Regions from separate parts of the Homo sapiens genome. Here regions 1 and 2 are each linked to region 3. The links are contacts of gene promoters, found by promoter capture Hi-C in blood cells and fetal thymus (Javierre and others, 2016). All regions are on one chromosome and are shown on one strand. The core of a region is centred on a gene start or on the middle of the fragment in contact, and the rest is flanking DNA. Distances in the headings are between cores, read along the strand shown. Region 1 overlaps LOC100506236 (a long non-coding RNA gene). Region 2 has its middle 55 kb from the start of MIR148A. Region 3 holds the start of HOXA11 (homeobox A11).

Region 1 (3,855 bases), core at 906-3,405, 1.4 Mb before region 3:
AAGAAAAAACTAAAATAAAAACAAAATAGAACATAAAATATCAGATTGTATTGCACAGAATAAAGATAAGTATCATCTCCCAAAGCTTTCCTTTCCTGTTGGTGTGTGTCTAGTGTGTCACAACGTGCTAATTCAAAGACACGTGACTTGTGTTTTATGAAGAGTCTCAAGCAAGCAACATACTTTCTTCATCTGTCTGATCAGTCTTGGTGACTCTTGCACAACCCTAGACAGTTCAAGGTTTGTCAATTTACTCATCAATGTCCAGAGTCAAAGCTATCATCCAATTTTCCTTGTACTGCCTCCAGAATTATCACACTTTGTGTCTGGATCGGTGACACAGTAGTCCAGGCTCTGCCACCAGTCTCAATGACAGAAATGTTTTAATCTCTCAAACTATCATTCTGCCAAGTCTTTTTCTAGCATGCTGGGGCATCTACCCTCCTCCACACCAAGTTCATGCTAACTGCTTGCATGGGGTTCCCCGCCAGACAGCTGAGAGAACTCGACTCTCAAAACTGAGTTGCTCCTAGGAAATCCCTTATTTCTCTATTTAAACTTTCATTGATTGATTTCACAAATATCTTCTGCCTACTACATGGCACATGCTCTAGGCAGACAATGGTCAGCAAGACAAGAGTGGCCATTGCCCTGCAAAGTCCCCTGCCTTGTCAGATGTCAGAGTCCAGCTGTCACAAGACAGGTACAGTCTCAAGTTCTCTTTAGGACTGACAAGCATTTGCTGCATGACCTTTGGCAAAATATTCCATCCTGTCACTCAGAGGTTTGATTGCTCAGAAGTTGTGTTTTCTGGCCTACTGAGAATCACAGGATCTTAGACCTGGCAAGGCCCTTAAAGAGCAGATTCTCTATTTACTGATGAGGAAACTGAGCCCCAAGAGGTGTTATCCTTTGCCCACGGGGACACATGACCCACTAGGAACATGTGTGCCAGCACCCCCAGCCCACCCCAGGACTGCCCCCCCATAGTGAAGCTGAATATGATCAGTTCCTTATGAAGAATTGAGAGACCTTCAAAAGGAAGTACCCTACATCCTGAACTTTTCAGAGAGATGGGTGGTGCAAAATGTTCAAGTGACAACACACGTGGAAAAAAAAAAAAAAAACCAAAGGCATATTTGGATCTTGCAGAAGGGTTTTCAGCAATACAAAGGCACAAGAATGAGAACAGCAGGAGTCCCACTTACCAGGAGCATTCCCTTAAAGCCTCATGTGTGCCTCCTAATAAATCTGCTTTTTCCTTTTTGAAGTTTAAGCGCTCCCTTATTGAGCAGTCTCCTGGTAGCCAGGAGTCCCCTAGGAAACAATTGTCTTGCTTCCAGTGCTGGGGCACTCAGACTCTTGGTTTGGTTTGGTTGGTTGGTTGATGGGTGATTTTTCCCTCCCTCTATCTTCTTAAAACTCCAGCCAGCATATAGGGGTTTTTCGTTTAGCTTCCTCAGATCCCCAGCCATTTCCCTAAAAGTCCATCCCATTAAACATGAAATCCACAGAACACACACCAAGCTACTTTTTCTCTCCCCTAATAAATCAGGTAAATTACCTCTTTTGTTTTTAAGACCATTTCAAGTTCGCCTTTAACATTTTTAGTTAAGGCATTATTTATGTTGTGATTTAATCGAGATTTAATCCACTTCTCAGCACACCATCGTATCGCAATATCCCTGAATTTTTTGCCCATATTATTAAACTTGAGGAGCACGGTAATGTTTTCCTCAGGCATGACACTGATCATTTCCAGATTGTGCATGTCTCTCTGGCTTTTTAACACACCTGAGTTTCTAAGGCCCACTAAAATAAATAACGGTTTGGTCTGCAAAGAACTGGGGCTGCATTAATAAATGCAGAGAGATCTATGTTTATCTCCACTTTCTGAAAACATAAGCGTCTTCTACAAATATGAGTATACACAGCAGAAATCATGTGAATCTCTTGGTAAATGTTTGCCTTCACATCCTGGGGTATGCTGCACACCAGATGGTTTGATCAAAACAAAATCATACACACACACACACACACGCGCACACACACACACACACACACACATGTTTGAGCACCATGCCTCCTCATTTTTGTGACTTTTTTTCTCCTTTCATGCATGAGAAAGAATGTAGAAATACTTAGAATAATGACCAGTATGTTCTGTGTTTACTGCTGCTTTCCCTCACTAGAGATTAACTCATAAAATTTTACTCCAAATTAAACAAACTGAGGCTCTCCTTGCAGCCAGTCAAACTGCCACTTATACCAAAGGAAATCTTAACTTCCATCTCTGAGAGTTTGAACGGCCACCCCTGCGGAAAGATAACAGGGTCTCTCTTTTCCTCTCTGTGTTCTGCGAGTCCTTGGAGGTGCCAAAATACTTGTCTGGACTCTGGCCCCCAGGGCACTTCATCTGCAATTAGAATGGAAACTGTATTTTAGAACATTAACATCTCTCCTGCTGTTTTTTTTTAATGATCTGATTGCTCCAATTATAGTTATTTAGAGAAATCGGACAGTCAAGGATTTTACCAGTAGGTAGGCAAGAAAGCACCTTTGACTGTGGCAGAGGACTTGCAAAGACAATTGTGTCTAGGAAAGACTTAGGAACTGTCTCACCATCCTGTCTTCTCAGCTGAAATTTCTCTGGGGATGATTAGATGTTGTCTTTGAAAAATCCAAATGGGAGAATGTGTATAAAACTACCCCGTTCTGTGCCTTGAGCACAGTAAGTTTTCAATGGACGTTAATTCCGTTGGAATCCCAGGCTTGAGACTGCAATCCAACGATGCATGTAAAAGACCTTGAGAAAGAAAACAAAAAGGCTCAAGGTCATGACCTCACCAGTCTTTTTGTCTTCCTCTCTATATTGCTCGTGTTTCACAGCCTTCAGCCCCAGTAAACAACATTTTTACCTGGAAGGAGCTTAGAGAGGACTTTAATTTTAGAGGGGCATTTACAAAGATCCTCTGATGCAAGCTCCCTGCTTCCTACTGCTAAAAGTCTGCTTCTTTTCAACAGTGCCCGCCTGGAGCCATGGTTGTGTTTTTGTGTGGTCTCATTCCTGTTTTATGGATTGTTCATGTACCCTGGAATCCCTGGGATACTTCAATTACAAAAATTACCATGTGCTGGGTTCCTTTCGGGTTGACAAGACTGCTTTCCTCTCTCTCTAAGCCGGGTTGTGTTTGTTTACATAGGAAATGTACTCTTTCTTAACATTCACTGTTTCAACATCCACTTAGATAGCTTCATTAAAAAATGGGTTAAAAAATAAAGAAGGGTGGCAAGAAAAGGAAAAAAAATACATCTTTCTATTTCAACCAAAAATTTGGTTCAGAACAAACTTGGAAAATCAGAGGATGTTTTTCTTTTCATCGCTGAAACAATGCTCTGCTTGTTCTCCCCGGGCAATGAGAACTACCCGGGCTTGGATCAGTGGGTCACATTGTGCAAAGTGTTTTTCCTGTTTAAACTATGTGCTTTCTTAAATGTTATCTTTTTGGAAGAAAATTAGATAACCTTATGTCCCCAGACTATATCGTATTTGTTTGAATAGGAAATGCTAATATTTTTCTACATGTTTCGTATCGGTGTCAGTGGAAACTCAGTTTGGTGGTTAAGACAGGCCCCTCTAAGCTCTGGGAATCACATTGGCTATCTTCCAGAAGCCAAGAGGTTCACGGTGATTTTGAATAATCATCTCCATAGCTATGTGAAGTATCTATATTACTTAGCCAGAAGAAAACAAAATTATATTTACCTTTTCTGTATTTAATTAATTTATCTTTAAATATGTCATTTGATGAGATTTTCCTTCTTAATTTCTCTTCTCTTTACCTCCACCTCCTG
Region 2 (4,059 bases), core at 1,148-3,647, 1.3 Mb before region 3:
GAATAAATTTCAACACTTTTTTAACATAAAAAATACTGTCTTTTAGAATATTTTAATTTTATTCATAATCTTTATTCTATTTCATAGACTAGCTCACATGTCTTTTATTTAACTGAATGGGTATCAAGAAAAAATAAAGAATGGTTCAGTTATTACATGTGATAATTAATTTCTGAAATTAAAAAATGTCCTCTGTCCAATTGATTTGCAAAGAATAGCTTAATGGACAAAAGAAACTGCATAATATGCCTTCTGGAAAAAAAGCCAATAATTTTTTGGAGCTAAAAGGCTTCTTTTCAAGATAATGATTCGTTTCAATTTTTAAATCTTATACCAGGGTTAATATAAAATTATTTTTACATTGTGCTGGTAACCCATTTGAAAAAAGGCCTGAAAGAAAGTAGTCCCAGCTTCCTGCGTCCCCCACTTCCCCTCCAAATCAGCCAGGGCCCCAAAGTCCCGGACTCAAATAAATCAAGATTATGCTAATAACTAGAGCTAGGTGCAATGGCAGACTTTGACAATTCCAGGCAAAAGACACCAGAGGGCACTACAGGACCACGTTTTGTAATTTCAGGCGCCATTTTACCCTTGGATTTGAACAATAATTTCTTAAAAAACTGTTAACCTTCTGAGATCCGTATGTGGATTTATTTATTGCTTTCAATATCTTATCGCCACTAAGCTTAACTAGCTAGGCTTGGAAGGTTATTTTAAAGGACAATGCCCTAAAAAGGCAGACACAATTGGGCTTCCTCTTTATTTTACCTTCCTATAGAATGTCGGCATGTGTATGAGCGTGTATGAGCGTGTGTGTGTGTGTGTGTGTGTGTGTGTGTGTGTGTGTGTGTGTTTAGCAAACATTTATGATTGAAGAAACCATTCAGGGAATCCAAAAACTAAAATGCAGGATTCCACTGCCTCCCCTCCACCCACCCCGCAAAAAAAAAAAAAAAAAAGTGACGTTTCAGGCCAAAAAATTGTTTTCGTTGTTATTACTTCTGTAACTGTCTTCAATCACCTATTAATTTAACCAGCAAATATTTATTGAAGCCCCTAATGTGCCAGTCCCTGGGCACACCATGATACCTGAGCCACATCTCACCCTGCAGGGTCTCACCCATGATGAGAAGGCAGTTCTCTTTACTCCTGTCAGCCAGATTTAGTCTTAGAGCATCAATATCCATAAGTGAAAAGTGACACTTCAGCTTAGATTATTTCTCTTTTCACTGCCCTTCAGAAAAATTTTTTTTTTTTTCAGAAGAAAATAGGATTTTAAAATCACTGCTTTCTAGATGTGACCATCTCAGCCTGAGCAAGAAGGATCAAAACTCTCTTGCTGGAACTGCCTTCTCAGTGACTGAATTTTTATGAATCAAATAAAATGGTTGCTTGTGGGTTTGGGGAATGCTTTTTTTCCTTCCAAAGTCCCATATTGATTAGAATGAACTACATCGAAATTTAACAAGTGACAGAAGAAAGTGCCACCACTCTTGGCGTCTAATGAAGCTGTTGGGCAGTGCTGCCATCCAGAGTGGGGGAAATGGGACACAGGAAGTCTGTTTCCTCCTCCCCCAACAATACTCCCAGCCCCATTGGTTTGTACAAACAAACATGTGAGACCACGTGGTAACATAGACAAGTTACATTCCTTACCTCAGGTAATACCCACAAGATAGCCCCATTTACCAGCTGAGCAAACTGAGGCTAAAGGTTACTTCTTTGCCCAAGGTCACACTGCCAATATCCAAACCCAAGTCTGTCCACCTCCAAAGATCATGTGCCTTCTGCTACCCAGTGTAAATAACCCAAAAGAACTCAAAGACTGTTTTCTTTGAAGATAGGTGAGGCAGACACTGCTGTGTGCTTGCCCCGAGCCATCCTATCTGCTTCCTGTGCACACAGCTGGACTACATTTCCCAGCTCCCCTTGGGGGAAGGTTGGCCCTGAGAGTGGCGTCTAGCTAGTGGAATGTGAGTGGCAGTGAGGCCTGCCCACCTCCTGCACAGTCCTTCATTCTCTCTCTCTACCTGTCACAGCCAGATGCAGAGTACTCAGCAGCAAACATTAAGGCCCTTAGGGATGGTGGGGCCACAGAATGAAAGGTGCCTGGGTCCCTGAATCACTGCATGGAAGCTGTCCAAGAAACGCTTTCAGTGGTCCAAGAGCAAGAAATAACTTGTTTTGTGTTAAGCCACTGTGACACGGGGTTGCTTGTTAAACAGTTAGCCTTTGATACATAATACACAAGGAAAGAAAATGGCTTCTGTGAAGGTGTCCATTTGCCCACCAGGGGACTTGCCTAGTTCTGTGGTGGTGAATTTGTTCACAATTTCCCTGGGCGTCAGGAAAAGAAGACATTGAGCTAAGTGATCTCTAAGGTCTTTCCCCGACCTGAGAAAAGCCTGTGGTTCTGTGGTTCCCCTCTCTCACCCGCCGGATCCCGTCTCCCACCACTCATATCTGCAGGGGCCAGCTAAGTTACCTGGACCAGGAGGGACTTAGCCCAAACTCCTACCCACCCAGGAGTCTTCCTTCCCACATAACACCTTCCCTGTACTCTGCTGGGCAGCTATACACAGATATGCCCCCTCGGCAGTGGCAGCAATATGTAAGATGCCCCGGCAGGAGGACGGGGGGCTTCACATGGCCTTGTGCCACCTGTCCCAACTTTCCCTGCCCCCTGTGTAGCCTGTGTGGGAAGATGAGCACCTTCCTCCAAGAAAAAGGCTGGGTATAGACCAAGACCTGGAAAACTGCTGGGTATCCGAAGAGTGAATATGAGGAATTCTGCTCTTTGAAAGCACTGCTTCTTCGACTGATGTCACTAACATCCATGAAATATCATCCTTAAGCTATTTTAAGTCTACCTCCAGTGACTCATGGGATCTCCTTTTCTGTCACTGAACGTGATGTGCTCAAAATGAAGATAATGTTAATATAGGGAAAAGCAGAACTGAGAGTTTTAATGACACAGACTCCTGGCCAGATCAGGAAAGGAGGGTGTAGTTCGCGGCATTTGTGATTCCGGCTGGGTCTCCGGTGCGGAAATGAAACTCGCCCCCTGCTGGCCCGCCCCGGCGCTTTCAGAGGGAAGGGGAGCCAGGACGCCCGCGGGGATGGCTGCCCAGCTGCGAGTCACACACGAGCGTCGCCCACGCCCGGCGCCCCCGCACTGCCCATGATAGGGACCTACTGAATTGGATACTAGTGGTGTTTCTGGAAAAATCAGGGAGGATTGAGACCTGGGTTTTCGAGTGACAAATTGGTGATGCAGATGAAAAATGCAGGACCCAGTTGCATATGGTGGCAGTCTTTGGCTGCCTGGAGAGAAAGAGAGAGAGAGACCGCGCGCTCACTATCAATATGATTAACTATTATAGTGCGCAGTGTTTGGGGCTATCCATTCCTTTTCCTCCTTCTTCTATCACAGATTCCTCCCTCTCTGATTTCAGAAGGAGGAGTTAGGGAGGGTCGGGTAAGTGCCTGACCTAGGCCACTCAGCATCCCCCTTCCTCCACCAGAGTCCTTGGCCAACTAAAAACCATTCCTGGGAATCTTCTGCGGAACCCTGCCCCTCTACCCTCCAGCCTGCCAAGCCTTTTTTCTGTCCCCTGCAAACTAAAGAATCCTGACTACCAAAGCTATTGATGGTTCCCACAATATGTATTGTTTGAATCCACTAGCACCTGACACAACCCAAATTATGAATTACCATAATTACCAAGGGTAAAACCCAAGGTTAATGATGAAACAAATTAGTGCACAGTTAAAAAATATAAAAGTGTTCTATAACTACTACAAAATGAGATAAGGTTAATTAAAGTAATTTTCAAAATATTAACAGAACCATAGTTCCAGCAAGTATAGGAACATTATCAGCGCATTTGCATCATTAAAGGATTTAAACAATTTATAGAGCCATAGATAGAACACTTACATTTGTGAAGGTCAAAAAAAGGATAAACTATTTAGCTTTATTTTTGTAAGCCTATTTCGTTTTCTACATACTGTGGCATTATTATATCTAAGAGTTAAACTGCTCTAAGTATTATTTGT
Region 3 (3,666 bases), core at 665-3,164:
CTGCCTAAGCCTCTTTGAAAGCAGCCAAGTGGGGGTTGCCGGCTGCCTCTCGCAGGCCAGACTAAACAAACAGCCGCCTGCGGACATTTCACCTTCCAGCACCTGGGCTGCCCCTTCCCAAGGCAGTAAAGGCGGCTCCAGTCCCAGTCTTTCCCGGCTGCGGCCAAGACTGGGCAGTCCTTAACATCTGGGGCGGCTGCCGGGTCTTTGTCAGCCTGAGTCCTGGCCACCAGCTTCTGCCTCCCCGGCCAGCCTTCCGGCTCCGCCGAGGTGGGGAGGTGGCGGCGGAAGCCCCCTACCCTAGGCCTTCGCTGAGCACCACGGCCACACGGCCATCCTGCACACGGCAGAGCAGCGGCTCTATCTTAGGTAGGGTGAAGGGAAAGGGGGCTTCCCGAAGCTGCGGGCAGGCTCTACTTGCTCCCCCTTTAAAAAAAAAAAAAAAAAAAAAAAAAAGACCCACAAGACAAAAAAAAAATCGCTTTTGACAGATTGAATAACAATTGTGAATAACATGCAGTTGGGCAGAAGGAGGCACGTAATTGCCACCACGCCAGAGGAAAATGGCTTCCTTTGGACAAAAAGGCCAACTTTGGGTTAATTTGTTCTTTTAATATATTGCTAGAGCTAAGCGGGCTACTTTATCTGTTAAACGCGCTCCTAGCGCCGTCGTTAAACAGCGACGCCTTTGAATCCCGGCCGGGACTGGAGTCCCGGCGCAACACATGGCTTTTATAAAAATCTCCGGATTACCTCGCTATCAAAAGCTCCCGAAGCCCTTGCAGGGGGAATTTACAGGCGCCCACCTCCGGCTCCCCAGCCTGGAGCTGGCCCCGAGCGGGGTCGAGCTGCTGGGCTTGGGAGCTGAGAAGGGAAAAAAGGGAAAAGGGGAGTTGTTTTTTTTTGCAGGCATGCCTTGGCCGGTGGGTATTTCACGGCCAATTTCAGCACTCGCCACGTGATCCCGCCTTTTATAACAAAGTTTTGTTGGGGGAAACCTAAAGGCCCTTCATAAACCTTATATGCTTATAAAACAGCATATAAAAATTTAACAGCGGTGCTGCGCTAGATTTCCAACTCCCCTTTCATAAAGCGCAGGGCGCTGCCTTTATACGTACTGGAGCCGCCGGCCTTGTCCTCAGTGTGGCCGGAAGACGACTCGGGGCTGCTGCTGCTCTCGGGGCGCCGCCGCCGCTCTTTCTCCTCTGCTGCCGCCGCCGTCTCCCGGCAGCCGCCGCCGCCGCCGCTGTCCGAACTTGAAGTTGCCGGCGCGCCCGTTGCAGCCGCCGCCGCCGCCGCGGAGGTCGCCGTGGCCGCCGGGGGCCCCTTCTCGGCGCTCTTGTCCCCGGGGTAGTCGGAGGAGGCGAGGTTTTCCGGGGTGCCGTAGGCTGTCTCGAAAAACTGGTCGAAAGCCTGTGGCAGGACGCCGTTCCTGCCCACGGTGCTATAGAAATTGGACGAGACTGCGGGGGTGGGGTGGTGGTAGACGTTGGCCGAGCTCTTGGCCAGCACGTCGCCAGGCACGCCGGCCGCGCTGGGCGCCTGCAGGCAGTCTCTGTGCACGAGCTCCTCCGCGGAGTAGCAGTGGGCCAGATTGCCGCGGGGGTGCCATTTAGTGGCGGGCTCAATGGCGTACTCTCTGAAGGTCACTTCGCGCACGGGTTGGACCTGGGGCAGGTTGGAGGAGTAGGAGTATGTCATTGGGCGCGAAGACGGGGTCTGGGGCAGAAAAGAAGGGAGGCTGGAGAAATCTGGACCCGAGACGTAGTAAGTACAACTTGGCAAATACATGTTAGAGGAGCAGGGACCACGCTCATCAAAATCCATTATTGGGCTACCTTGGGCTCTCCGCAGTAGCCGAGCTTAACATGATTCTCCACTGCAGCTGCCTCTTTGAAGCGGATCCGTGAAGTAGAAATTTGGAGACGTAAGCTGACGTGGAAATCTATCCCCATCCTTAGCAGGGAGGTGCTGGTCATGTGACCCGATGTTGAAATTGACAAGCTGCTAGCTAGTCCGGGCCTTTTCCCCCCCCCTTTCCTTTTTTTTTTTTCCTCCTCTCCCCTCCCTCCCGGCTTCCTTTCTTTGTAGCCACCTCAGGGGAAGCAACAGATCGTCACTCGGTGTTCTCACCGAAAGCACGTAATCGCCGGTGTAACTCATGTTGGCTGGGGGGCCTCCCGGCGCGCGCGGAGAGGCTGGGGTGCGCCCCCATGCAGCATGCTTGTGCTCAATTGCAGGGTCCTCGTTCTCGAGTGTGCAGAGGGCGGTGAGAGCTCAACTCTCGTCCCCACCTCCCACCCGCAGCTCCCCGGGTGGGTGAGGGATGCCCTGGACTGGGGATAGCCAGGTGGGAGTCCGTCGCTGTGTGGCCTGTGGTCTCGGAGTCTGTTCTCCTGGAGTCTCGCATTTGCACCCCCTTCTTCGCAGTCCCCCTCCCATAGACTTGCTCTGGGAAGCGCCTCTGCCTCCGACCCTAGCCGGAACCCCTTCGGGGCCAGAGTTTGAAGCCGTGGATGTGCCTGCCTGGTGGCTTGTCCGATTTGCACGGTGACTTGATTACACTCTCTCATTCATGGTCACTTCCGAAGCGCTTTAGTGCCTTCCGTCCCTAAACCGCCAACAGCCAGAACGGCTTCTCCCCGCGGTTTGTCACTGATCCGCAGGGCCCGGAAGGGCCTTCGTCTTACCCGGGATCCACCTCTCCCCTCATCTTCCCTGCCTACCTCTTCATCCCACCTTCTGTCCTTGGAGAAACTCCCTCCTCCTCGCTGCCTGCCGGGCTTCGGAGTGACTCGGCAGAGACAGAGGCACAGGGGCTGCCCTGCTGCTCACCGGTCCACCCATCTGCCTGGTCTTCTGGAGCTGAGGACTCGGGAAACCATGCAATTGAGGCAAGCCTTGGGCTGCTTTAGAGGCGCTGACATCCGAGGAGACTTCTCCTGGGTATGCTGCATCTTCGTGGGGGGCCCATCAGGCTGCTTACAGAGCTCCAGGGGTGTGGGGAGAATGGAGGTGGAAAGGACGGGCTGAGGGCCAAGGAGAGGTGGCTGAGAAAGGGGTAACCCACCTACTCTCCTACTCTCCTTCCTTGCAATGTGTGAGAGTGAAAGCAAGGGATGTGCAGGGCAAAAACTCAGAGAGCTCTGTGCCTTTCCTACTGCTCATTCCACAGGAGGAATACAATACCAGAGAAAGGAGAGGTGCTTCCCGAACTCCCTGCACCTGGGGAAACAGGGATGTCTTTAAAAAGCTAGGTTTGTGCTAAGGATAGAGAGAGGCCATAGCAATACTCTGAGTCTAGCTTTCTTGAGAAGAGGAAAAAAAATAAATTAAGAAGGCAAAATATGCTCCCCATCCTGCAGGATTGAAGGAGCAATGTTTGGAGGAAGCGAAAGAAAGGAGAGGACACAGAGCACAGAGCAGCCAGGCAGAGCCAGGAGCTGAGAAGGGCCCAGACCTGAGGCCTCCCAACAACTCTCTTCTTGGAAGGATCTGGGATGTTGCTGAAGGAAAATAAAAAAATATGTAAAAAGATAACCTTTTGTTTTTCCCTCTCCAGGAAATAGCCAAAGTTATTTACATATCTTGGGGAGATTTAGAGTATAAACTCTAAGATCTTTGGTATTTAAGTGTCAACATCGATTTATTTATTTATTGCTGAGC

What was found. The method cuts DNA at HindIII sites, captures the fragments that hold promoters and counts their contacts. A CHiCAGO score of 5 or more calls a contact.
Region 1: a fragment that was not itself captured here is called in contact with the fragment with the promoter of HOXA11 in region 3 in 1 of 17 cell types (naive B cells); the score reaches 6.0 in naive B cells.
Region 2: a fragment that was not itself captured here is called in contact with the fragment with the promoter of HOXA11 in region 3 in 11 of 17 cell types (total B cells, naive B cells, naive CD4 T cells and 8 more); the score reaches 18.9 in total B cells.

Annotation. Positions count from the first base shown.
Region 1 is chr7:25,829,144-25,832,998 of GRCh38, forward strand. LOC100506236 (a long non-coding RNA gene) reads right to left here. Exons shown (of 3, transcript XR_108752.5): 1 at 3,767-3,855; 2 at 2,623-2,806; 3 at 2,148-2,416. Among named protein-coding and RNA genes, the nearest start is that of LINC03007, 41 kb to the left of the region's middle. RefSeq lists an enhancer at 957-1,529. The HindIII fragment of the contact is 4,145 bases long and covers 84-3,855 here.
Region 2 is chr7:25,892,469-25,896,527 of GRCh38, forward strand. No RefSeq gene overlaps it. Among named protein-coding and RNA genes, the nearest start is that of MIR148A, 55 kb to the right of the region's middle. RefSeq lists enhancers at 519-598, 2,792-2,881. The HindIII fragment of the contact is 3,429 bases long and covers 684-4,059 here.
Region 3 is chr7:27,183,318-27,186,983 of GRCh38, forward strand. It overlaps HOXA11 (homeobox A11), which reads right to left and starts at 1,915. Exons shown (of 2, transcript NM_005523.6): 1 at 1,119-1,915. The coding sequence starts at 1,827. HOXA11-AS (HOXA11 antisense RNA) reads left to right here and starts at 2,091. Exons shown (of 2, transcript NR_002795.2): 1 at 2,091-2,946. RefSeq lists enhancers at 1-396, 397-1,278, 2,161-3,042. The HindIII fragment of the contact is 8,872 bases long and covers 1-3,666 here.